7 separate regions of the Homo sapiens genome follow, and regions 1, 2, 3, 4, 6 and 7 are each linked to region 5. Evidence: promoter capture Hi-C in 16 types of primary human blood cells and fetal thymus (Javierre and others, 2016). All regions are on one chromosome and are shown on one strand. The core of a region is centred on a gene start or on the middle of the fragment in contact, and the rest is flanking DNA. Distances in the headings are between cores, read along the strand shown.

Region 1 (3,079 bases), core at 424-2,923, 1.6 Mb after region 5:
CTGTATCTTTGGTAGAGTAGTTTTTATTTATTTATTTTACTTACTTACTTACAAGAATAGGGTCTTGCTCTTTCACCCAGGCCGGAGTGCAGTGGCATGATCACAGCTCACTGTAGCCTTGGCCTCTTGTGCTCAAGCAGTCCTCCCACCTCAGCCTCCTGAGTACATGGGACTGCAAGCATGCACCATCACACCTGGCTAATTTTTTTTTTTTAATTTTGTGTAGAGACGAGGTCTCCCCATGTTTCCCAGGCTGGTCCTGAACCCTGAGCTCAAGCAATCCTGCCTTAGCTTTCCAAAGTGCTGGGATTACAGACATGAGCCACTGTGCCCAACTGAAGTCTTTGATCTTAATAATCTAATTTGTCAGTTTTTTCTATCATGTATTATGATTTTGGTATTGTATCTGAAGCTTCATCACCAAACCGAAAGTCATGTAGATTTTTTCCTATGTATCTTCTACAAGCTTTATAGTTTTGCATTTTATATATAGGTCTGTGATTCATTTTGAGTTAATTTTTGTGAAAGATGTAAGGTCTGTGTTTAGATTCGTTTTTTTTTCTTTTTTTTTTTTGCAAATGAATGCCCAATTGGAGAAAGACTATCTTTTATCCATTGAATTGCCTTTGCTTCTTTGTCAAAGATCAGTTGACTATGTTTATGTGGTTCTGTTTTTAGGTTCTCTTTCTATTCCCTTGCTTTGTCTGTCTTTTGCCAATATCACATTGTTTTGATTACTGTAGATTTTTAGTGAGTCTTTAAGGTAAGTACTGTCAGTCTTCTGACCTCGTTCTTCTGCAGTATTGTGTTGGCTGTCTGCATACTTTGCCTTTTCATATTAACTTTAGAATCACTTTGTACATATCCAGAAAATTCTGGGAATCTTTGTGAATTGCTAGATTTTGAGTTAAATTTATACATCACAATAGGAAGAATGGACATCTTAACTATATTTAGTCTTCCCGTTCTTGGAGTATCTATTTATTTAAGACTTTTGTCAGTTTTTGTAGTTTTCTTAATAAAGATCTTACACATGTTTCGTTAGATTTATACCTAATTTTTCATTTTTTTGGTTCTAGTGCGAATAGTACTGTGTTTTTTATTTCCTTTTCTAAGTCTTCATTGCTAGTAGATAGCTAAACACTTGGCTTTTCTATATTTGCTTGTATTCTGCAACCTTGCTATAATTGCTTCTCAATTCCATTAGTTTTTTTGTCAGTTCTTTGAGATTTTTTTACTTAGACAGTTATGTTATCTGTCAACAAAGACAGTTTTAATTATTCCTTCCCTATCTCCATACTTCTATTCCTTTTCTTCTTTTATTGCATTAGTTATTCATAGACTATGTCTAACAGTTAATCATAAAATTCACTAATACTCTGCATACTGATTTAGTATAAATTTAGAGGGTATTGTTCACTAAAGAATAATATTCTTTTATTTTTGAATATTCTTTCATTTTTTCTTATGATTAGAAAAAATGAATATCCAATATTAGAATATTCAGTTCTTAAATCTTTGTTTTCATTTTTCCATGTCTACCATCTTTTTCATGTTTTTTCCCCCTCTCTCAGCATTCTGTCATATGGCCAATGTGATTTTCTTTACTGCCAGTGCTGTCATTTGCTTCTTCTAATCTGATATTGCATTTCAGTTTTCTAAGAATCTTTTCTTCTTGTCTAAGTCTGGCTTAAATAGCTCAAAACATTTATTTCATAAAATAGTCATTTTAGGTAGTAATTAACCTTTTTATACTTTATTTTTAAATTGACTCATAATAATTATACACTTTCATGGGATATATAGTGATGTTTTGATGCATATAGTGTATAGTGATCAAATCAGAATAATTAGCATATCAATCATCTCAAACATTTATCATTTATTTATGTGGGGAACATCCAGTATCCTTCTTCTAGCTATTGGAAAATATTATTGTTAATTATAGTCATCCTATAGTTACAGAAAAATGATAGTACAACACTGTTACTTACTCCTCCTATCTTGCTGTAATTTTGTGTTCATTATTGAATCTCTCACTATCCCTCCTTTCCTCCTACCCTTCCTACCCTATCCTCTCTTCTACTTTTGACTTCTGTAAGACCTACTTTTCTTGGCTTCCATAGATGAGTGAAAACGCATGGTGTTTAACTTTCTTTTCCTGGCTTATTTCATTTAATATAACTTCTTCCAGTTCCATCTATGTTGCTGTGAATGACAGAATTTCATTTCTTTTTTTAATGGCTGAACAGTATTCCATTGTGTGTATATACACATATTCTTTATCCATTCATCTGTTGTTGGACAACTAGGTTGATCCATATCATGGCTATTGTGAATAGTACAACAATAAATACGGGCTGCAGATGTCTCTCTGATGTAATGATTTCCGTTCCTTTATATAAATTCTCAGTAGTGTGATTGCTGGACCATATGGTAGTTCTATTTGTAGTGGTTTTTGGGGAACCTTTGTACTGTTTTCAATATTGGCTAGTTTACATTCCCACCAATGGTGTATAAAAGTTCCTTTTTTTTGCATCTTCACCAGCATTTATTATTTTTTGTTTTTCTGAAAATAGACATCCTAACTGGAGTGAGATGATACCTCACTGTGGTTTCTATTTGCATTTCCCTGATGATTGATGATGTTAAGCATTTCTTCATGTATTCGTTGGCTATATGTATGTCCTTTCAGAAATGTCTGTTCAGATAATTTGCCTGTTTTTTAAGCAAATTGGTTTTTTGCTTTTGAGATACTGGAGTTCCTTGTGTAATCTGGATATGAATCCCTATGAGATGAATACTTTGCAGATATTTTCATTTATTCTGTAGATTGTCTTTTCATGCTGTTGATTGTTTCCCTTGCTATGCAGAAGCTTTTGAGTTTGATGTTAGCAGATTTGTCTATTTTTTTATGTTGTCTGTGATTTGCAGTTTTTATTCATAAGATATTTTCCTAGACTAGTGTCCTGAAGTATTACCCCTATGTTTTCTTCTAGTAGTTTTATAGTTTCAGGTCTTAACATTGAGGTCTTTGATCTATTATGAAATGATTTTTGTACAGGATGAGAGATGGGAA
Region 2 (3,460 bases), core at 105-2,604, 1.6 Mb after region 5:
TCTATTTATGAGGGTCCACTCCAGTGACTTCCCACTGTTGCACTGGCAATTAAATTTCAACATGAGATTTGGTGGGGACAAACCATATCCAAACCATAGCAAAGTTGTCTCTTTTCTCATGCTATGACTGCCATGCCTCCATAGCTTTCTTGCAATCCTCTTCCCCCTCCATTCTCGGCAGATGTGTCAGGCACATTTACATGTTCACATCTCCTTTCCTACAACCCTTTTTCTTTTTCAGAAAAGTGAAACTTTTTTCTAATTCATATTTCAACAGTCCTCCTTCCAGTGCTGTTTCTCTATAGAGTGACTGTCATTTGCCCCTCCTTTCCTGTGCTCTAGAGCTTATGATACATGGCTTTAGTATAAACATCCCTCATACATCACTGGCTGGTGCTCCACATATCTTTATTCCTCCTTGCCAAAAGCAGCAGGCGATGACAAGGATCAAAGAAGCATCCTCCTTCTTGCCAAAAAAAAAAAAATCTTCCTTTGGGTGGAAGTGGCTGTGGTGAGTGTTGTTGACCCAATAACGGACCAAATAAAATGCCAGTAACTTCTTAGCAGTGTTATCAGATGTTCTTTTTTATTGTATATATATAATTCTCCAACTGTGTAGTTCTTTCAAGTGTAATTTTTTTTCTTTTTCTTTTTTTTTTTTTTTGAGATGGAGTCTTGCTCTGTCGCCCAGGCTGGAGTACAATGGCATAATCTCGGCTCACTGCAACCTCCACCTTCGGGGTTCAAGCAATTCTCCTGCCTTAGCCTCCCGAGTAGCTGGGATTACAGCCACACACCGCCATGCCTGGCTAATTTTTGTATGTTTAGTAGAGATGGGGTTTCACCATGTTGCCCAGGCTGCTCTCGAACTCCTGACCTCGTGATCTACCCCCCTTGGCCTCCCAAAGTGCTGGGATTACAGGCGTGAGCCACTGCGCCTGGCCTCAAGTATAATTTTATCTGTGTATCCACGTTTATAGGGAGAGAACAAAAGTATAGAGGGAGTAGTGACTTTGCCAGCAAGCATCTTCTTCCCCATTGGGAGTAATTCCATTTTTGTTTTTTGGTTTTGTTTTGTTTTTACTAGTTCCTGTATGCCCACATTGCCAACTTCTGTCATTACTGCCTACTACAAAGACAGTATTTACTTCCATCTCTTTTCATTCCCAAATTTAGGGTCTGAATTGTTGCTTGTATAGATTATTACTTCCACTGTCTACCTATATGGGTGACCTAGAACTCTTTCTTAATAGAAAATAAATGTACAATATCTGAATCTCTGAATATAACCTTTCTTGTCTTTTAGTTCTCATGCTGGCACTATACTTTTCTTTGACCTCATAAAAACATTCAAAATTTTTTATTCACCCTCCCACCTCCTACCTCAGGCTATTAGTCTTTCCTGTCCACCTTCCCAAACTAACCATGATCCCATTTTGATCACTTGAATTCTTTCCTCTATATCATGATTTCTTCACGTAGGTATTATGAGAGTCATCTGGCTAGATGTGGAGATGTATATTTCTGGGCTTAAACTACTCCCCTTTTAAAAATCTTTATAACATTTCAACAATATACATAGGAAAGAATAAATAATGAGCCCTGAATTCCCTTCTCCACTCATTGCCAAGATTCAATTACTACAGACTAATTTTATTTATCCTCAACATCTCCTTTCATTCCTGTATTATTTTGAGGCAAAAACTAGGTATTATATCATTTTATCAGTAAGTATTTTAGAATGTATTTTTAGGAGATAAGAGCTCTTTAAAAATATATTTCCCTAATATAATTGTTATATTAGCTGTAATTCCTTAAAGTCATCAAATATCATGTCACTGTTTTTAAAACAGCTTTATTGAGATGTAATTTATACCATACAACTCACTCATTTAAATTATACAATTAACAGGGTTTTTGTTTATTCATAGAGTTGTGCATTTATCACCACAGTTTAAGAGCCACGTACCTTTTAGTGATCACCCCAAATCCCCTGTTCCCTCCCCAGCCCTATGCAACCACTAATCTGCTAATCCACTTTCTGACTGTTTAGTAATTTTTGAATCATACAACGTATAGTTTTGTGTGACTGGCTTCTTTAACATGTTTTCAGAGTTGATCTGTGTTACAGCATATATCAGCCCTTTATTCCTTTTTATTACCAAATAATATTCTGTTGTGTAGATATACCACACTTTGTTTATCCATTCATCAGTTGATGGACATTTGGGTTGTTTATATTTCTTAAGCTATTAAAAATAATACTGCTGCAAACATTCACATACACTTTTTTTGTGGTTATCTGGTTTCATTTGTCTTGGTTGTATACCTTGGAGTGTAACTTAAGTAATAAATATATATTATACTATACTGTATATATATAGATGTATATATACATATATAATATAAATTATATATATTATATATAATATGCTGTGTACTATAATATATTTTGAAAAATTGCTCAAGTTCATTATTAAAAAGAGATTTAGGAATGACAGTTCCTGCAATATATGTGACTTAGGAAGACAGCTTACCTATTGTGCTTTTGATGTCTTGGATAGTTTGAATGCCTATCAGTTTTGTGGAAGTATTTTCTTCATTTAAGAACACTTCGTATGTCCTTACAAGCAGTACATATTAGTTATCCTTTGGTTTTTAGTGTTCTTTGACAGTAAATTTGATTCCTGATTTCTTTTTAAGGAAAAATAGCACAAATACAAATAGAGTCTAAAAGCATTACTATAAAAAAAAAAAAGCCGGAAGATAACTTACGAATGCCATGTTGCATTTCTGCCACTTTCCTCTCCTAAAGTTGGTTCCTGCTGCCTATCATGCTATTAATTTTTTAATCTCAGTTCTTCATAGAATGTACAGAATTCCTTATTGACACTCTTGGTGTTATTGTGACATATAGCTATTCAATATTGTCAGTTTTTTTAAACAGTCATGTTGGGTCTTGGAATGTTACAGATTAGCTGAGAGTAACATGGTGGGAAAAAGGCATGACATCACCAAGCCAGCAAATGCCTGGAGGTGGATTATTTAGTTTGCATAAAATGTTTTAAATGTTTAATTATGTATTGTAGACTAAACATTACTAATTATAGGTGATAGTTTACTTATACCTCTAACATTGGTACAGTGTTTTTGTTTTTTTAAAAACATTCATCTTCCTTATAGAGATTTCTGTTTGTTTTTAAGGATATTTTGGAACTCTTAGAAAAAAGAGTGAAGTCAAGATTTTCTCACCGGCAGATACACTTAATGAATTCATTTGGTTTTCCACAGTATGTTAAAATATTTAAAGAACAGTTATCTCTACCTGCAGAGTTTCCAGACAAGGTTTTTGCTGAGAAGTGGAATGAAAATGTTCAGGTATCTTAAAAGGCAATAAAGCTAAATGTTCCTTGCTATATGATTTAAAGCAATTAAAACACAAATTTTAGAAATTAGTAAA
Region 3 (3,005 bases), core at 224-2,723, 1.7 Mb after region 5:
ACAATTTGACTTCCTCTTTTCCTAATTGAATACCCTTTATTTCCTTCTCCTGCCTAATTGCCCTGGCCAGAACTTCCAACACTATGTTGAATACGAGTGGTGAGAGAGGGCATCCCTGTCTTGTGCCAGTTTTCAAAGGGAATGCTTCCAGTTTTTGCCCATTCAGTATGATATTGGCTGTGGGTTTGTCATAGATAGCTCTTATTATTTTGAAATACACCCCATCAATCCCTAATTTATTGAGAGTTTTTAGCATGAAGGGTTGTTGAATTTTGTCAAAGGCTTTTTCTGCATCTATTGAGATAATCATGTGTTTTTTGTCTTTGGCTCTGTTTATATGCTGGATTACATTCATTGATTTGCGTATATTGAACCAGCCTTGCATCCCAGGGATGAAGCCCACTTGATCATGGTGGATAAGCTTTTTGATGTGCTGCTGGATTCGTTTTGCCAGTATTTTATCCAGTTAGAATGGCAATCATTAAAAAGTCAGGAAACAACAGGTGCTGGAGAGGATGTGGAGAAATAGGAACACTTTCACACTGTTGGTGGGACTGTAAACTAGTTCAACCATTGTGGAAGTCAGTGTGGCGATTCCTCAGGGATCTAGAACTGGAAACACCATTTGACCCAGCCATCCCATTACTGGGTATATACCCAAAGGACTATAAATCATGCTGCTATAAAGACACATGCACACGTATGTTTATTGTGGCATTATTCACAATAGCAAAGACTTGGAACCAACCCAAATGTCCAACAATGATAGACTGGATTAAGAAAACGTGGCACATATACACCATGGAATACTATGCAGCCATAAAAAATGATGAGTTCATGTCCTTTGTAGGGACATGGATGAAATTGGAAATCATCATTCTCAGTAAACTATCACAAGAACAAAAAACCAAACACCGCATATTCTCACTCATAGGTGGGAATTGAACAATGAGATCACATGGACACAGGAAGGGGAATATCACACTCTGGGGACTGTTGTGGGGTGGGGGGATGGGGGAGGGATAGCATTAGGAGATATACCTAATGCTAGATGACGAGTTAGTGGGTGCAGCGCACCAGCATGGCACATGTATACCTATGTAACTAACCTGCACAATGTGCACATGTACCCTAAAACTTAAAGTATAAAAAAAAAAAAAAACATAGCTAAAGAAAAACTGCATATGCAAATCATACCGTATTCATTTTTTTATTTAACTTGGGGATGGAATGGGGATAGCATACATTTTATTTGTACAATATTTAACAATCACTTATCCAAGGTGGGGTTTTATGGGGATTTTAAGCTTTCTGTTAAATACTTGCAGAAAAAATAGCAAGTACGATTTGACAGTAGTACAATAACCTGTGCCCAAAACACAAGAAATACAGAGTAAAGCGAAAATAACTGCTTACCAATATTCTGAGAGGTAACAAATGGGATATGGGTTGAGACTGCATAAAAAACGTACTGCTGGTTGAATATCTGAGGTAAATGATGTTCAATCAAGATGCTACTTGTATCATTTTGCCCATAAATGGATAAATAATTTTATGCATATCATACCAAATGTTCCTAAAAAGTAATCTTTCAAAAAAGTATAAAAGAGAAACTGGAAAGTATCTGTGATGAAGCTTCTTTCTTTAAAAAAAAAAAAAAAAACAAAAAAACCAGTAATCAGTTTATTCCACTAAACCACCATCTCGCCATGGTTTTTTTTCCCCTACCACCTGCATTTTACTTAAATGTAGCTGTTACTTAGGGGTGAGGAAATGCAACAGAAGAGATTCTTTTTAAATTTCATGATATGATTCTATTTTAAATTCCAAAGGTGTTGGGTTTTTTCCTGATTGTATTTTCAAAACATCACCATGAAAGATAGATAGTGCAAGTTCATGGGACTAACAATCGTGAAGCACAGTCTCTTTTTCTGGAATTCACAAGGTACCTAGAATTCAAACAAGAATCACACATCACATGCTAAAAAAACTTCTAGCATCTAAAATACATACAAGAGCTGTGCAGGGCATAGACTTCAAATAAAGCCGAACACTGGTTAATCCATCAGTCCTATGGCAAGTTGATCATAAAGCATTCCTTACGCGGAGATCTGGGCAAGGTAAAGAGTATAAGTTAGAGCAGCAGCAGTTCTGATGGGTATCAGAAAGGCAAAATACAAGACGAGTCATGAGGAGCACCATACACATGAGGAAAGAGTTATTTGGGGGGTCTCAGTTTGCCCCAAAATGGATCACCATTTTTCTCATTCTTTGATCTTTTTTTTTTCCAGTATCTCTAGCTCAAACTTTCTGTTAACTTGCCCACTCTGCACTGACTGTAAACCAAACACTAAATACCCTGCAAAAGAAAGTTTTAACAAGACTAGGTATAAGGACAGGTAGTCACTGGAACATTCTTATTTTACTGCTTATAAAAAGTTTTTCTATTAATAATAGTTCTCAAAAGAATACAAGTTTTAAAATTGGTTAGCTACAGTTAAATACAATACCCAGGATTTCTAAAAATTTTTTCTAACTTGAAAACATTTTATATTGTGAATAACTGGGTTTAAAAATTTTATCTCTAGTACTCACATAAGCCAAACATTCATCATAATATCCCTTGTTTATTTTTGTTTAACTTTTAAAAAGAAAGTTAAATGTTCACAACAGGTAGAAATTCATCTTCAGGAAATTAATGATTTTCTTGTATGCACATTCTCAATATTTTCCCTTCTTGATTAGTTTTTAAATGGAAGCAAAACCAGATCAAGAAATTGAGAGACCAAGTACTTTGTGAAATAAAGAGGTGAACTCAACATTGAAAAGGGAATTGCTAGGAATACAATGAATGAGACCATGGGGACACACGTGACAGTTCTGAATGGTCTGCAGCACACAGACGCTATTACTCTTCTTTTCCTCCCTGCTTAAAGTCTGTTGACCTATGTATTGTTTATAAATAACATAATTAATTTACTATTCCCAGAGATTACGTACATATA
Region 4 (3,296 bases), core at 346-2,845, 1.7 Mb before region 5:
CATACAAAAAAAATTAGCTGGGTCTGGTGGCAGGCGCCTGTAATCCCAGCTACTTGGGAGGCTGAGACAGGAGAATCGCTTGAACCCAGGAGGTGGAGGTTGCAGTGAGCCGAGATGGCGCCGTTGCACTCCAGCCTGGGGGACAAGAGCAAGACTTTGTCTCAAAAAACAAAAATAAAAACAAAAACAAACAAAAAACAAACAAACTGAAACTCTATGCTCATTAAACAATAACTCCCCATTCACTCCTTCCCTCATCCCCTGGCAACCACCATTCTATTTCCTCTGTAAATTGGATTATTCTAGGTTCCTTATATAAATGGAACCACACAATACTTGTCCTTTTGTAGATGACTTATTTCACTTAGCATAATGTCCTCAAGGTTCATACATAATCTATTCTATACCAGACTTTCCTTCCTTTTTAAGGCCAAATAATACTCCATTGCATCTATATGGCACATTTTATTTATTGACTCATCTAACTAAAATTATTTTGATAAGAATCCTGTAGCCCATAGATCCATTAAGGCCACAGACTTCTTTTGGGCCTGCAAAAGTCACCACTGTATCACTTAAAAGTTTCCCAACATTTCCTGATTTTGTTTGACAGCCTAGAATTCTTTGAGATGCTTTTTATTCTCAGACATAGCTGCTGTTCTTTCAGGGATCAGGGTATCTTAGGGCCAGGGCTGTGGTTAAATAGGAAGAAGGGTAAGATCAAGGCCACAAGTAGGTTAATATTACCTTATTCAACAAGTATTCACAGGTCACTCTTTTTGGAAAACACCACCTTAGTTGCTTTGGTAGCTACTCTATATCACAATGGCCAGGTGGCCTTTGGGTGGACAGAGTGATATAATTTGTAAATCAATGGGCTTGACACTACTTAGACTCTGGGCTTAATAACCAAGATAGACTCTTACAGAGAAGTTGTGCTTTTCACACACATGCAGGCATTTCCACAAGTCAAGAAACAGCAGAAGATACTGGACGCGGTGGCTCACGCCTGTAATCTCAGCACTTTGGGAAGCCAAGGTGGGCAGATCATGAGGTCAAGAGATCAAGACCATCCTGGCCAACATGGTGAAACCCCCATCTCTACTAAAAATACAAAAACTACCTGGGCGTGGTGGCGCGTGCCTATAGTTCCAGCTACTCAGGAGGCTGAGGCAGGAGAATCGCTTGAACCTGGGAGGCAGAGGTTGCAGTGAGCCGAGATTGTGCCGCTGTACTCCAGCCTGGGTGACAGAGTGAGACTCCATCTCAAAAAAAAAAAAAAGAAACAGCAGAAGATGGACAAGAGACTCTGCCTCCCATCTTCCCTTCACAACTCACCCTCCTTACCCCAACTACCTCCTTCCGGTGGCTTGGTTTTGAGGCCATGTTGTAAATTAGCTGCAAAAGAAGACCAGGGAAGACGTTTCTCCTACACCTTGCAAGCCCCCCTGTATTTTCAGTATTTCTGGTAAGGACCTCACCACATGTGGTGCAGAGCATGGTGCTATGCAGAATGATGTAGAGAGAATGAATTTTCCCTTTCCAGACACATTTTATGTTATCACTGTTGTCAAAGCAGATGAAAAATCAGGTTGCCGCTGAGTCACAGCCTCCACAATGGCACACCCCCTCTCCTCCATGTGTCCAGAGAACTGATGTAATTTCTTAAGAGATTTCTCAGGAAAACGTGATTCTTTCTGTGTATCTCCCAGTAATGTTACTTTGGTTTATGCTCATAAAAGCATAGGTTGGCTGTAATCTTAATTAGCCCTCACTGAACAATATTTTTCTTATTTTTTTCCTAGGGTTTTCTTCAGTAACCATATCTAATTTTTTTGTCATAGCAGTGTGCCCCAAGAAAAAGTTTCAGACAGCAGAAACAGATCTAAAGATTAATAGCATATAAAAGATTTTCTACTTTTTTTCCCAAAAAGTGAAGCTAATCTGAATGAAATATAAGAAAGTGTAATTTTTCTAGACGTTTATGTCTGTACCACAGCAGGGGGGTTCCCTTGTAAATGAGTTATCTTTTTTTTCCAAAAAGAAGTTTATTGCAAGGAGGCTTATTAACTAGTCCTGGGAGTTGATGAAAGTCCCATCTCTTTGCCTGGGGTGTGTAACTCAGTGGGAGTCAGTTCCACACGGAGTTTTGGTGGCGATGATCTCACTATTTTATACCTCATGTCTACACTTTAGTTTATGTAAAAAAGTTCCTTTCCCTGATGAAAAATGTCCCGTCTGTGACAAAGTTGTTCTTGCCTTTTCGTGTGTCCTTTTTTCCTCCCAGTTGGACATGAATCACACTCTTCATATTTTGGTATGTAGTAGTTATTAATTAATTCAACCAGTTGAAGACAGTCCCATGCCAGATTGTTACTGGCACTTGTTATTTGACATCTGTGGGTACAACTGGTAATGAGCAGGCTTTATCTGAAATCCTCAGTCAGCAGCACAATATTCCAGGAGATGGGACCATCACAGCTAGCATGCACGCCCTGCTGCTTTCTGCCTCCCACCTAAAGGCTAGGAGATGGCCACATAGATGCAATGATCTAGGGCTAATAAAGTATGGGCTTCCCTAAAGTTGCTTCCTTACTGGACTACTAGAATAACATTAAAGTTAATTTAAAAATTTCTAATTGATATATAATATTTGTACCTTTTTATAGGGTTCATATATTTTGTTACAGGCATAGAATGTATAATAATCAAGTCAGGGTATTTAGGGTATTTATATTTTTGTACTGAGAACATTTCTTTCCAGTATTTATTTATTTGTATTTCTTTGTACTGGGAACATTTCAAGTCCTCTCTTCTAGCTAATTTGAAATATACAATACAATGTTAACTGTAGTCACCTATTCTGCTATAGAACATTAGAACTTATTTTTTCTATCTAACTGTATATTTGTACCCATTAACTAACCTCTTTCCATCCCTGCCACACTCTTCTCAGCCTGTGGTAACTACCATTCCACTCTCTACCCCTGTGAGATCAACGCTTTTAGCTCCATGTATGAGTGAGAACCTGCAATATTTGTCTTTCTGTGCCCGGCTTATTTCTAAAGATAATTCTTTAGGTTAATATTTTAGCTCTGTAAAATTTCATTTAAACTAGAGCCCTTAACCTAGGTTCCGTGGACTCCCAGGAGTCTATGAATGGCTTAGGTGGTAAGTGAAACATCTGAAATTTCATGCAGGTTTTGTGTATGTAGGAATGCTTCTGGGAGAAGAATTCCTAGCTCTCATCAGAGTCTCAAATATATCTGTCCCTCCCTCACTCTCGAAGTGATTTG
Region 5 (3,358 bases), core at 612-3,111:
TTTGAAAATAAGTGGAATCTATAAGATTAAAAGCAAAAGAACTATACATAAGCATTGTACTCTAATTGGTAAATCTGTTTCTCACAGGTATACCTGATAACAGTTCAGAAACAACTATACATGTACTCTGAATACGGGTTGACGGTTCTGAATCCATTATACACGTAACCTGGAATTGAACAATTAGGTAAATGGATGGCAGATGATGAGAGCCAGGTGTCTCACACTGGAGTGGAAGGCTACAGACAAGCAAGGGGAGAAGGCTGCAATGATCCATATGGTGCTGGAATTGAACTGAAGATAACAGCTCTAGTATTTGAACCTAGAACGCCTGTGTAGCTGTCAAAGATACAGATGGATACATATATAAATACTTACAGATATGCGTATTTAGTCAGGTTAGCATATCCACAAATATTTCCTTGCTCTGTCAGCTGAGAGTGTCTAGAAGCAACAACATCCCAAATGTCCAAATCTTGATTTCTAATATCATTTTCCATTAAAAGTACCCTTGGCTTTTTGGGGAAGCAGCTGATTCTAGGATTGGGGCAGGGAATATACAAGATGAGCCTGGAGCAACTTATAGAAATTAAGAAAATGCTCAAGAAAAAAAATCAATAAACATAAAACGAGGAGGGTTTGTCAAAAAGACACAAATGCCAACTAAAGGAAATCTCAATAGCCAAAGCTGGAACCAATATGAACAACAAAATAAAGTAGTATTGGATTATAACCCAAAATGTAAAATAAATATCCATGAGTCCATACTGACATAAATGATTGAATACATAAATAAATGCAGTACAGACAAATCTCCCATGCAGAAGAATTCCAAATAATTCATGAAGATATTCTGTCCTCATAAAGGTGGAGTATAACAATTTCCCATTCCTATAGTTTGGGCTGCACAGAGAGATGTCCTTCCAAATAGTATAGTATGGAGAGGAAAAGAAAAACAGTAACTTCACAGTGGAGAAACCTGACAAACCCTACATAGGGAGGTGGAAGGGCTTACTAGATGAAACAAAGGGGATCTTTGTAGAACTATAAAACTTTTCTGTATGACACTGTAATAATGGTGATAAAGGTTAGCATCAACAGTAATAAGTCATGTTGATAGTATATACCCTTGATGTGATGTGATGAGAAGATCACTTTACCTTACCTCTTAACTCAAGAAAAACCCATAACCTCAGTTAATGCATGAGAAAAATACAGGCAAAACCCAATTGAAGGACATTTGACCAAATGACCAATAAGTCGCTTCAAAACTATTAAGGTTATCAAAAACAAGGAAAGTTTGAGAAACGGTCACGGTCCAGAGGAGCCTGGAAGACATGGTGATGTACTCCGGACAGGATCCTGGAATGGAAAAGAATACCAGGTCGAAAACTAAGGACATCTGGAATAAAATATGGGCTTATGGGCTTTAATCAATTTTTAAAAAAGTATTAGATACATGAAAATGATACACGATTTACAAATCAATCGCCTAATATTTATCGAGCATATTGAGAGCCTGGCACTGTGGTAGGGCTGGGGACACAGAAAGAGGTAAGTGCCCTATGCTCAAAAACAGCGATTCATGAAAAATAAACAACTATGACAAAAAGAACAGAAGACTGTATCTCCTGGAGGCAGTAAGGAAGGCTTAAGTTGGGAGGACTATCAAACGCATCAAGGAGTTACTGAAGATTAACTGACCCGCCTAACGCAGGTCGGAAGCCCTCCTATCCATCCACCCAAATCACCCCTGCCCCACCTTTTCTCCTCCCTTGCGTTTACCCAATGGCAGGTCGGCTCCACGTAGGCCTACTTTGCGCGTGCGCATCATCGTTTCGACGCGCTCGGAAGCAACTTCCTTTGCCTGCTCACCGCCAGCGTAGGTGCTACCACCGCTGCCGTCGCCGCCGCCATTTTGATGGCAGGAAGAGTCCGGTTCTGGGACAGCTGGAGACAGTGGTGGTGACTGGTACGGATGGTTTCCGCCCATGTTAGCCCCTCCAAATTTGCCCGTGTTAGGGTTACAGCCCTCGGTATTGCCCGTATTTTCACTGGGTCCCTGTCGTTGTCCCCAGCCATCCTGTCCGTCTGTCTTTAGTCTCTTTTCTGCTTCCTCATCTTTCCGATCAGCCTGAAGCTTTGCTTGGAGCTGTTGTTACGCAGCCCCAACTTCTGTTAAAGCAGCCGCTTCGATCCTCTGGACTGAATTTTGGCCACCCAGCCCCCATTCCCCTCCCGGATCTGGTCCGAGTTGTTTTTCCGCGGCTGTAAACCGGAAGGGCTCTGAGCTGCACTGCCGGCTCCGGGCTGGGGGATCTGTGCCTGGCATGGGGGCGAGTTCTGGCCTCCTTAGGGTACGGGGAGAGCTTGGACTTTGGTCCTGACGTGGTGGACGACACACCTTCGAAGAGTGGACGTTACCTCAGTTGTCTGTTGTTAGAGTTTAATCGATCACTCGTCTGTTTTGTTGTGTTCTTTCCCAGAAATAACTTTACCAAAGGAAAGCTATTTTGCGAACTATCTTCTCCAGCGGAGATGGCCAATGTGAGTAAATTATCTCTTAAGAATCAGCATAGTAAACTCGTTTGGGAATGTTAGGAATGAAAGAACGGGTTTAATTATGATGGCATTGGGTGGTATAGTGTTAGATATAATGTATCAAAAATGTCAAGGGAAGCAAGTGGTGTGAAATTATGTTATGCTTTGAAGATGGTAGCATTCTTTGCACTGCAAATACACTTATTTATACAATTTCATTTGTACAGATGTGGAAATTCAAGCACCCTTTCGGTATTTTTTAAATACAGCGTTTCAGTAAATATTAGAATCTATGTTTAGGCCCTTTTTTAGCTTTTGGGTTAGCTAAACTGAAGGGTTTTTTTAATCTTTTTTTCTTTTTTTTAAAACAGTTTCCATATTGGAAGTGACCTTCTAAATCCTACAAAATAAGAATAGGAGATACTCTCACACACCAGAGATATTTATTGACTGTAACTTTGCAGTGATTAGACACATCCTATCTATAGAATTCATATGTAGCGGTCATAAGACATATATAAAAACAGCTACAATTAAAGTATAAAGTAATAATTTTTTTTAGAACCTACACGAAGGTGCAATGCAGATTCAAGTCTTTGTGGAGAGGAGTTTGGGATCACTTCATGAGGGAAACATTTAACTTGAGGTTTGAAAGATAGGTGGGATTTGTATAGTCTAAAATATGAGCGGGAAGGACAGGAAGGTATATTCAAAGAACTCCCCAACCCGCCTACCCCTTTGAAAAACTGAAAAGTGACTGCTGCCTGCCAACCTGAATGTAAGCTGCATGAAAGAGATAAGTGGGAGATAAGGTTGA
Region 6 (3,208 bases), core at 113-2,612, 1.6 Mb before region 5:
AATGATCTCCAATTTAAAATTATTTGCCCAGCTAATTTATTAATCAAGGTATCCAATGACTATTAAATTTGTAAGTGTCAAGGCTCTACTTTATCACTTTGTTTGCTGAGTAGCATTGCAGAAATAACGTCAGTTCAGGCCCGGCACAGTGGCTCATGCCTGTAATCACAGCACTTTGGGAGGCTGAGGCAGGTGGACCACTTGAGGTTAGGAGTTCCAGACCAGCTTGGCCAACATGGTGAAACTCTGTCTCTACTAAAAATATAAAACTTAGCCGGGCATGGTGGTGCGTGCCTGTAATCACAGCTACTCAGGAGGCTGAGGCAGGAGAATTGCTTGAACCTAGGAGGTGGAGGTTGCAGTGAGCTGAGATCATGACACTGCACTCCAGCCTGGGCAAAACAGTGAGACTGCATCTCAAAAACAGAAAACAAAAAACAAAAAAAAAATACATCAGCTCATTTATCTGTATTTCCTTTTTGTTATCTTTAAATACATTTTAATTGTGGAATAGTTTCAGATTTACAAAACAGTGTGAAGACAGTACAGAGTTCTCATTAGTCCATGCCCAGTTTGCCCTATTATCAACATTTTACATTAGTATAGCATGTTTGTCACAATATAGGAACCAGTATGGATACATCATTATGAACTAAAGTCCATGCTTTATTCACATTTCCTGAGTTTTTACCTAAAGTCCTTTTTCTGCTCCAGTTTCCCATCCAGGAGACCACATTACACTTAGACATCACAACTCCTTAGGCTCCTCCTGATTATGACAGTTTCACAAACTTTCCTTGTTTTTGATGACCCTGACAATTTCAAGGAGTACTGGTCAGGCATTTTGTAGAATGCCCCTCAACTGAGATTTGCCTGATGTTTTTCTGATGATTAGGCTGGGATTATGGGTTTTGAGGAGGTAAAGTGCCAGTCTCATCACATCCTATTAAGGGCGCATGCTATCCACATGACTTATCACTCTTGACGTTTACCAGGAGCACCTCGCTTAGGTGTGTTTATCAGGTTTCTCCACTGTCAAGTTACTCTTTCCCCCGTTTGCTTGCTGTACTTGTTGGAAGTCACGATGTGCAGCCTACACTTGAAGTTGGGAGTTAGGCTCCACTTCCCTGAGGGTGGAATAGCCATACAAATTGTTTGGAATTCTTCTGCATGGTAGATTTATCTTTTCTCTCCCTATTTATTTATTCACTCACTTATTTATACTAGCATTGACTCATGGGTGTTTGTCTTATACTTTGGGTTATAATCCAATATTACCGTATTTATTTTGCTGTACTTTCTTTTTGTAATACTTATTTCAAAGGTGCTATGTCACAGAGACCCAGGATATTCTAGTCGTCTTTCCTCTAATTTATAGCCTTTAGTCTAGATTCTAAAACATATAAAATTAATGTAGTGAAAAAATACTCTTCTACTTGTACACAAGCCACAGACTTTTATTAAAATAAATGCAGTCAGCATTCTCTGTTAGCAATGAAAACTGTTCCGCGGAAAGCATGGCGCCTGTGGAGCTTACGATCTGTTCAGTTACTGTAACGACATTTCTCCTGAATTAGGTCTGGAGAGATGAATTTACGCCGTAGTTAACCAAGCTGCTATGGAACCTGAGGCATTAACATGCTTTTTACTCTACTGATTGTCATTGCACTTATATTCCCATCAAGCAATGTATGTAAGAAAATGTATTTTATTTAATTTCTAAATGACTACAGCAGAGAATTATATTTAGAGTAGACAGAGCTTCTTAGGCAGCCTTACAAAAAAACCAATCTGATGAAGCTGGAAACCATCGTTCTAAGCAAACTATCACAAGGACAGAAAACCAAATACCGCATGTTCTCACTCACAGGTGGGAGTTGAACAACAAGAACACGTGGACACAGGTCGGGGAACATCACACACGGGGCCTGTCGGGGGGTGAGGTGCTGGGGGAGAGATAGCATTAGGAGAAATACCTAATGTAAATGACGAGTTGATGGGTGCAGCAAACCAACATGGCACATATATACATATGTAACAAACCTGCACGTTGTGCACATGTACCCTAGAACTTAAAGTATCATAATAATAATAATAAAAACAACAACAAAAATCCTTAAAAGATTTGGATATTACATTTTGAATATCTCTTTAAAAAATCCATTTGTTGTTTGAACTTTTTTTTTTGAGATGGAGTTTCACTCTTGTTGCCCAGGCTGGAGTGCAGTGGCGTGATCTCAGCTCACTGCAGCCGTTGCCTCCCGGGTTCAAGCAGTTCTCCCCTCAGCCTCCTGAGTAGCTGGGATTACAGGCATGCGCCACAATGCCTGGCTAATTTTGTATTTTTAGTAGACATGGGGTTTATCCACGTTGGTCTGGCTGGTCTCGAACTCCCGACCTCAGGTGATCCACCTGCTTCGGCCTCTCAAAGTGCTGGGATTACAGGCGTGAGCCACAGCACCTGGTTTTTGTTTGATCTTTCTAATTTTTCTACTTGTGATCCTCATGATGTAGACTGTGTATCTGTGTAAATGACTAAGTGCTGAAAACAAAGACTCATAACAAGTCATTTAGCTTGGACAGGTTAAACAGAAACAATGTGAAAGAGTATTAATGATAGCATTAAAGTTATTCCTAACTTTAATGAGAATGTTAGCTTTCATCATTAAGTATGAAGTTTCCTGAGGGTTGCTGGTAGAAGCAATTTATCAAATTTAAGTAATTTTCTTCTATTCTTCTATTAATAAGATTTTTTAAAATTCAAAATTAATGGTACATTTATTAAATACTTTCTCTGGGTTCAAGTGATTCTCCTGCCTCAGCCTCCCAAGTAGCTGGGATTACAAGCATGAGCCACCATACCTGACAGATGTGTGTATTTTTAGTAGAGATGGGGTTTCACCATGTTGGCCAGGCTGGTCTGGAACTCCTGACCTCAAGTGATCTGCCTGCATCAGCCTCACAAAGTGCTGGGATTACAGGCATGAGCCACTGTGCCCAGCCCCCTGTAATCTTTTAATAAAGCCATTAGCATCAGTAGATTTCCTCATGCTGACCATTCTTGTATTATTTGAAAAAACGCTACTTGGTTCATATGACATAGAAGTTATTTGCTCCTTGAGGATTTCATAATACTTTCTTGCAAAACTATCTTGGACTAGTACCTTTACTATGGCACACTGTTTTTTTTTTCCCCCACAACTTTTTA
Region 7 (3,490 bases), core at 768-3,267, 1.7 Mb after region 5:
ATAAGGATGGAATGGGGCCATATCATACAGAGCCTTTAAGGTCACTGTAAGGAATAAGCCCTCTAATATCTAATATTTGGTTGTTTATGGAATTAACCCCTTTATTTGCAGACAGCCTAAAGATAAATGTCGACCCATCAGGCATCACAAATTCTGAATTCGAAGTGCTGGTATAGTTCCCTTCAATCCTTCCTATTACTCTCTACTCCTTGAAAAAAATAACTGTATTAATTACAAATATTTGGCATAGCATTTCAAAGTTTTAAAGGTTGCATGTTCAGCAAAAGGTAGGAGAGAAGAAAAATAATTTAAGTTGCATGTATGGCCATAAAAGCAAACGAGAGCACGTCCTTCGCAGGGACATGGATGGAGCTGGAAGGCCATTATGCTTAGCAAACTAACACAGAACAGAAAACCAAATACCACAAGTTCTCACAAGTGAAAGCTAAATGATGGGAAGACATGGACACATAGAGGGGAACACTGGGGCCTATGGGAGGGAGGAGGGAGAGGATCAGGAAAAATAACTAATGAGTACTAGGCTTAATACCTGGGTGATAAAATAATCCATAAAACAAACCCCCATGACACAAGTTTACCTATGTAACAAACCTGCAGGTGTACTCCTGAACTTAAAATAATTTTTTTTTTAAGTCGCATGTATATATGTTTATGTGAGTATGCTTGGGCTTGTGTGTGTAGCCTCTGATCCTTACTCAAATCTTTGAGGTAGGTACTATAAAATAGAAACTAAGGTAATGAAATTTTCCCAAGTTCACATGATATTCCATACTGTGGTAGACAGGCACAACACCCAGGTTTTCTCCTGGCAGAATGTTTGCTCTTTCTACTATATCAACCCAAAGATCTGCATAATTAATTACTTTCATTGAATCTGAAGATAAAGCAAGTGTTAGGGGTTTTTTTGTTTTTTTTTTTTTTTTTTTAAAGAAAACCATTCTTGCCAACAAACGGCTACATATGTACCAACAAAATGAGCTTTTATTTCTATTAACCAGCCCTAACTGACAAATAACGTTTCAATGGTTCTATTATCTATAACAGAGTAGGCTCCTCTACTCTTCTGTGCTCTGGCTTAGTGAGCTGATTTCCTTCCATCACAGATGCAAGGCTAGATATTAATTACAAAAATACTGTCTAATTGAGGACTGCTAAATATATGTTGCTAGACTAACTAGAAACTACAGTTCTTGATGTGGGGATATTCTAGGGATACAATAGTGAAAAATAAGATCTGCAGGTAAAAAGTCAAAACTACTCTTCAATGATTCAAAAGGAAAATAAAGTATAACCACCCTTCTTCTCTGACCCTAACCTTTTACTTTTACTCCATCCTTCAGAAGTGAGGATCAGCTTGAGTAGTTTATTCTTCCTAAGCATCATTCCGATAAAGGTAGTTACTGGAGAAAATAGTACCTGACAGTTTGTTAGGCCCTCCCAGCAGTAAAAGCTTGCTAATTTAATTTCCTCTATTATTTCTAACCCTCTCAGCTAATAAGCAATCTCTATTTACATTTTAACAAAAACTACAATTAGCAATTAATTTCCTAATTCAACACCCAAACCAAGTATATGTATCTCTAAAGAACTGAGGAGGAAAATAAGTAAAGATTACCAAGAAAGATTTGTTATATAATATAGAATTAAAAAGATGGTCAGTGGCTATTCAACCATTTTTCTGGCCATTCAGAAAGGTGTTTTATTCTACTTTGAATGCCCACTAATCAAATTGCTTTACTATTACCATATCCGTCTTGTATATGTTATCTTGCAATTATTCATTATTTATCATCGTCCTCATTTACTCATTGACTTTTCATTTCTCCTCATATAATTTTAGTAATTATTACAAGTTCATTTTGAGTCTTAGGTTATATAAAATTAATTAGCAAACTGTATTCACTAATCCTGAAGTATGAAACTCCACTACCAGGTAAAAGAAAGGCCTAGCATCCAGTTCTTCTTCTAGAACTATTTTACTTAAGGTAATAATAAATAAAATGACCTATAGTATTTATAGGGTAAAACTGAACTTTATAGAAGGTGGCTTATCAAAGATGGTTAGCTTTATCTGCTTCCAAAATGAAAAAATCCAAGTGAAACCAGATGAAAAGAGGCAGGCACCATTATATTTTTTAAATTCAGTAAAGTTTAACATCTCTTCTGGTTTTACCTGTGTGTAATAATGCAGTTTTTCCTAGGCACAGATGCTACAGCTGAACTTCTGCCATAATAAAGAGCTTATTTCCCTGTGCCAAGCACCACCTCTTTACCACCAACAGGAGAGGATTGAAATCTTTCCAGATAAAAACATTCAAGCTGAATACCTAGAGTTAGAGGCTGCAGCCCTGAGTAAAACTAATAGCCTAAAGTATTAAGTATTCATCCTTTCAGCCTTTATTGTAAGACCTTGATAACCTGAAAAGATATCAAATTTCTAAGAATTAAGATATAAAATACACTGAGTTTCTACTTCTGAATCTTCAACCATACCAACAATATAGTATATTACATCTGAAACAATAAAGAGGTGGTAAGCTTATGAAAAAAATAGACACCTGAAAAGGAGTAAAGCCAATTTCAGAGAGAAATAGGAATGCTTAAATAAGAATATATATAAATTAGCAAATGTACAAAATCTAAAGATAGAAATTTGTTACAAAAATTCAATAACCTCTAGTCTGCGTTTCATTATTTCTTTTTTCTGAGAATTTGTATTCAAAGTTCACATATGCACAAGAAGCCTATCCATTCATGTTTTTTTTTTAAGCAATGACAAGTAGGAAAAAAAATAAGATGACTAAAATAAGATACAAAAGGAAGACTGATAAGTGTAGGCAAGCTTTACAATACAATCAGAGAATGTTCAAAGCTGGAAGGGATCTAGGAGAGTCTCTCTAGCTTACACTGATGCAACAGGTTCCTAATGGTCTCACCTCTTCCCTCCTACACTCTTCCAGTATGTTTTTCAGATAGCTGCCAAAGTGATCTCAACACATAACCCAGATCTGCTCTTCCTTAAAACTCTTTGCTTCACACTGCCATTTGCATTTTATTCTAACTCCTTCCCCTGTTACATCAAAGACCTGCATGATCCTGTCCCTATCTCTCCAGTCCCATCACTGCATTCATTGCTTCAGGCAGCTAGTTAAATATTCACTGAGCTTCGCCTCTGTGCCAGAAACTGTGCCATGCATTGGAAGTATTAAGAAAAAGTCACACCCTTCCCCACCCCAGTAGAGCTTACATTCTAATATTAGAAAGGACAAATAAGAAATAGGCCAGGCGCGGTGGCTCACACCTGTAATCCCAGCACTTTGGGAGGCCAAGGAGGGCAGATCACTTGAGACAGGAGTTCGAGACCAGCCTGCCCAACATGGTTAAACCCCCTCTCTACCAAAAATACAAAAATTAGCCAGGCATGGTGGCGCATGCCTGTAGTCCCAGTTACTCAGGAGGCTGAGGCAGG

Evidence for each region. Contacts are between HindIII fragments. The CHiCAGO score rates a contact against its expected background, and 5 or more counts as called.
Region 1: a fragment that was not itself captured here is called in contact with the fragment with the promoter of MMADHC in region 5 in 1 of 17 cell types (total B cells); the score reaches 5.9 in total B cells.
Region 2: a fragment that was not itself captured here is called in contact with the fragment with the promoter of MMADHC in region 5 in 4 of 17 cell types (total CD4 T cells, total B cells, non-activated CD4 T cells and 1 more); the score reaches 6.5 in total CD4 T cells.
Region 3: a contact is called between a fragment that was not itself captured here and the fragment with the promoter of MMADHC in region 5, in 4 of 17 cell types (total B cells, naive CD4 T cells, naive B cells and 1 more). The highest score is 8.3, in total B cells.
Region 4: a fragment that was not itself captured here is called in contact with the fragment with the promoter of MMADHC in region 5 in 11 of 17 cell types (total B cells, naive B cells, fetal thymus and 8 more); the score reaches 16.1 in total B cells.
Region 6: a fragment that was not itself captured here is called in contact with the fragment with the promoter of MMADHC in region 5 in 7 of 17 cell types (non-activated CD4 T cells, M2 macrophages, M1 macrophages and 4 more); the score reaches 8.2 in non-activated CD4 T cells.
Region 7: a contact is called between a fragment that was not itself captured here and the fragment with the promoter of MMADHC in region 5, in 1 of 17 cell types (total B cells). The highest score is 8.8, in total B cells.

What each region holds. Positions count from the first base shown.
Region 1 is chr2:147,968,111-147,971,189 of GRCh38, reverse strand. The region is part of intron 4 of ORC4 (origin recognition complex subunit 4); the gene reads left to right. Among named protein-coding and RNA genes, the nearest start is that of ORC4, 51 kb to the left of the region's middle. The HindIII fragment of the contact is 2,410 bases long and covers 469-2,878 here.
Region 2 is chr2:147,947,969-147,951,428 of GRCh38, reverse strand. ORC4 (origin recognition complex subunit 4) reads left to right here. Exons shown (of 14, transcript NM_181741.4): 9 at 3,205-3,378. Among named protein-coding and RNA genes, the nearest start is that of ORC4, 71 kb to the left of the region's middle. The HindIII fragment of the contact is 4,488 bases long and covers 1-3,460 here.
Region 3 is chr2:147,929,014-147,932,018 of GRCh38, reverse strand. ACVR2A (activin A receptor type 2A) reads right to left here. Exons shown (of 11, transcript NM_001616.5): 11 at 1,197-3,005. ORC4 (origin recognition complex subunit 4) reads left to right here. Exons shown (of 14, transcript NM_181741.4): 14 at 1-1,623. Among named protein-coding and RNA genes, the nearest start is that of ACVR2A, 85 kb to the right of the region's middle. The HindIII fragment of the contact is 328 bases long and covers 1,310-1,637 here.
Region 4 is chr2:151,301,469-151,304,764 of GRCh38, reverse strand. LOC107985827 (a long non-coding RNA gene) reads left to right here. Exons shown (of 3, transcript XR_001739220.1): 3 at 957-1,044. Among named protein-coding and RNA genes, the nearest start is that of NMI, 13 kb to the right of the region's middle. The HindIII fragment of the contact is 9,466 bases long and covers 1-3,296 here.
Region 5 is chr2:149,586,278-149,589,635 of GRCh38, reverse strand. MMADHC (metabolism of cobalamin associated D) reads left to right here and starts at 1,861. Exons shown (of 8, transcript NM_015702.3): 1 at 1,861-1,972; 2 at 2,487-2,547. The coding sequence starts at 2,539. MMADHC-DT (MMADHC divergent transcript) reads right to left here and starts at 2,278. Exons shown (of 3, transcript NR_110240.1): 1 at 1,786-2,278. RefSeq lists enhancers at 1,815-2,134, 1,451-2,650. The HindIII fragment of the contact is 5,011 bases long and covers 1-2,142 here.
Region 6 is chr2:151,208,780-151,211,987 of GRCh38, reverse strand. No RefSeq gene overlaps it. Among named protein-coding and RNA genes, the nearest start is that of RBM43, 51 kb to the left of the region's middle. The HindIII fragment of the contact is 4,587 bases long and covers 1-3,208 here.
Region 7 is chr2:147,854,990-147,858,479 of GRCh38, reverse strand. The region is part of intron 1 of ACVR2A (activin A receptor type 2A); the gene reads right to left. Among named protein-coding and RNA genes, the nearest start is that of ACVR2A, 12 kb to the right of the region's middle. The HindIII fragment of the contact is 1,088 bases long and covers 1,474-2,561 here.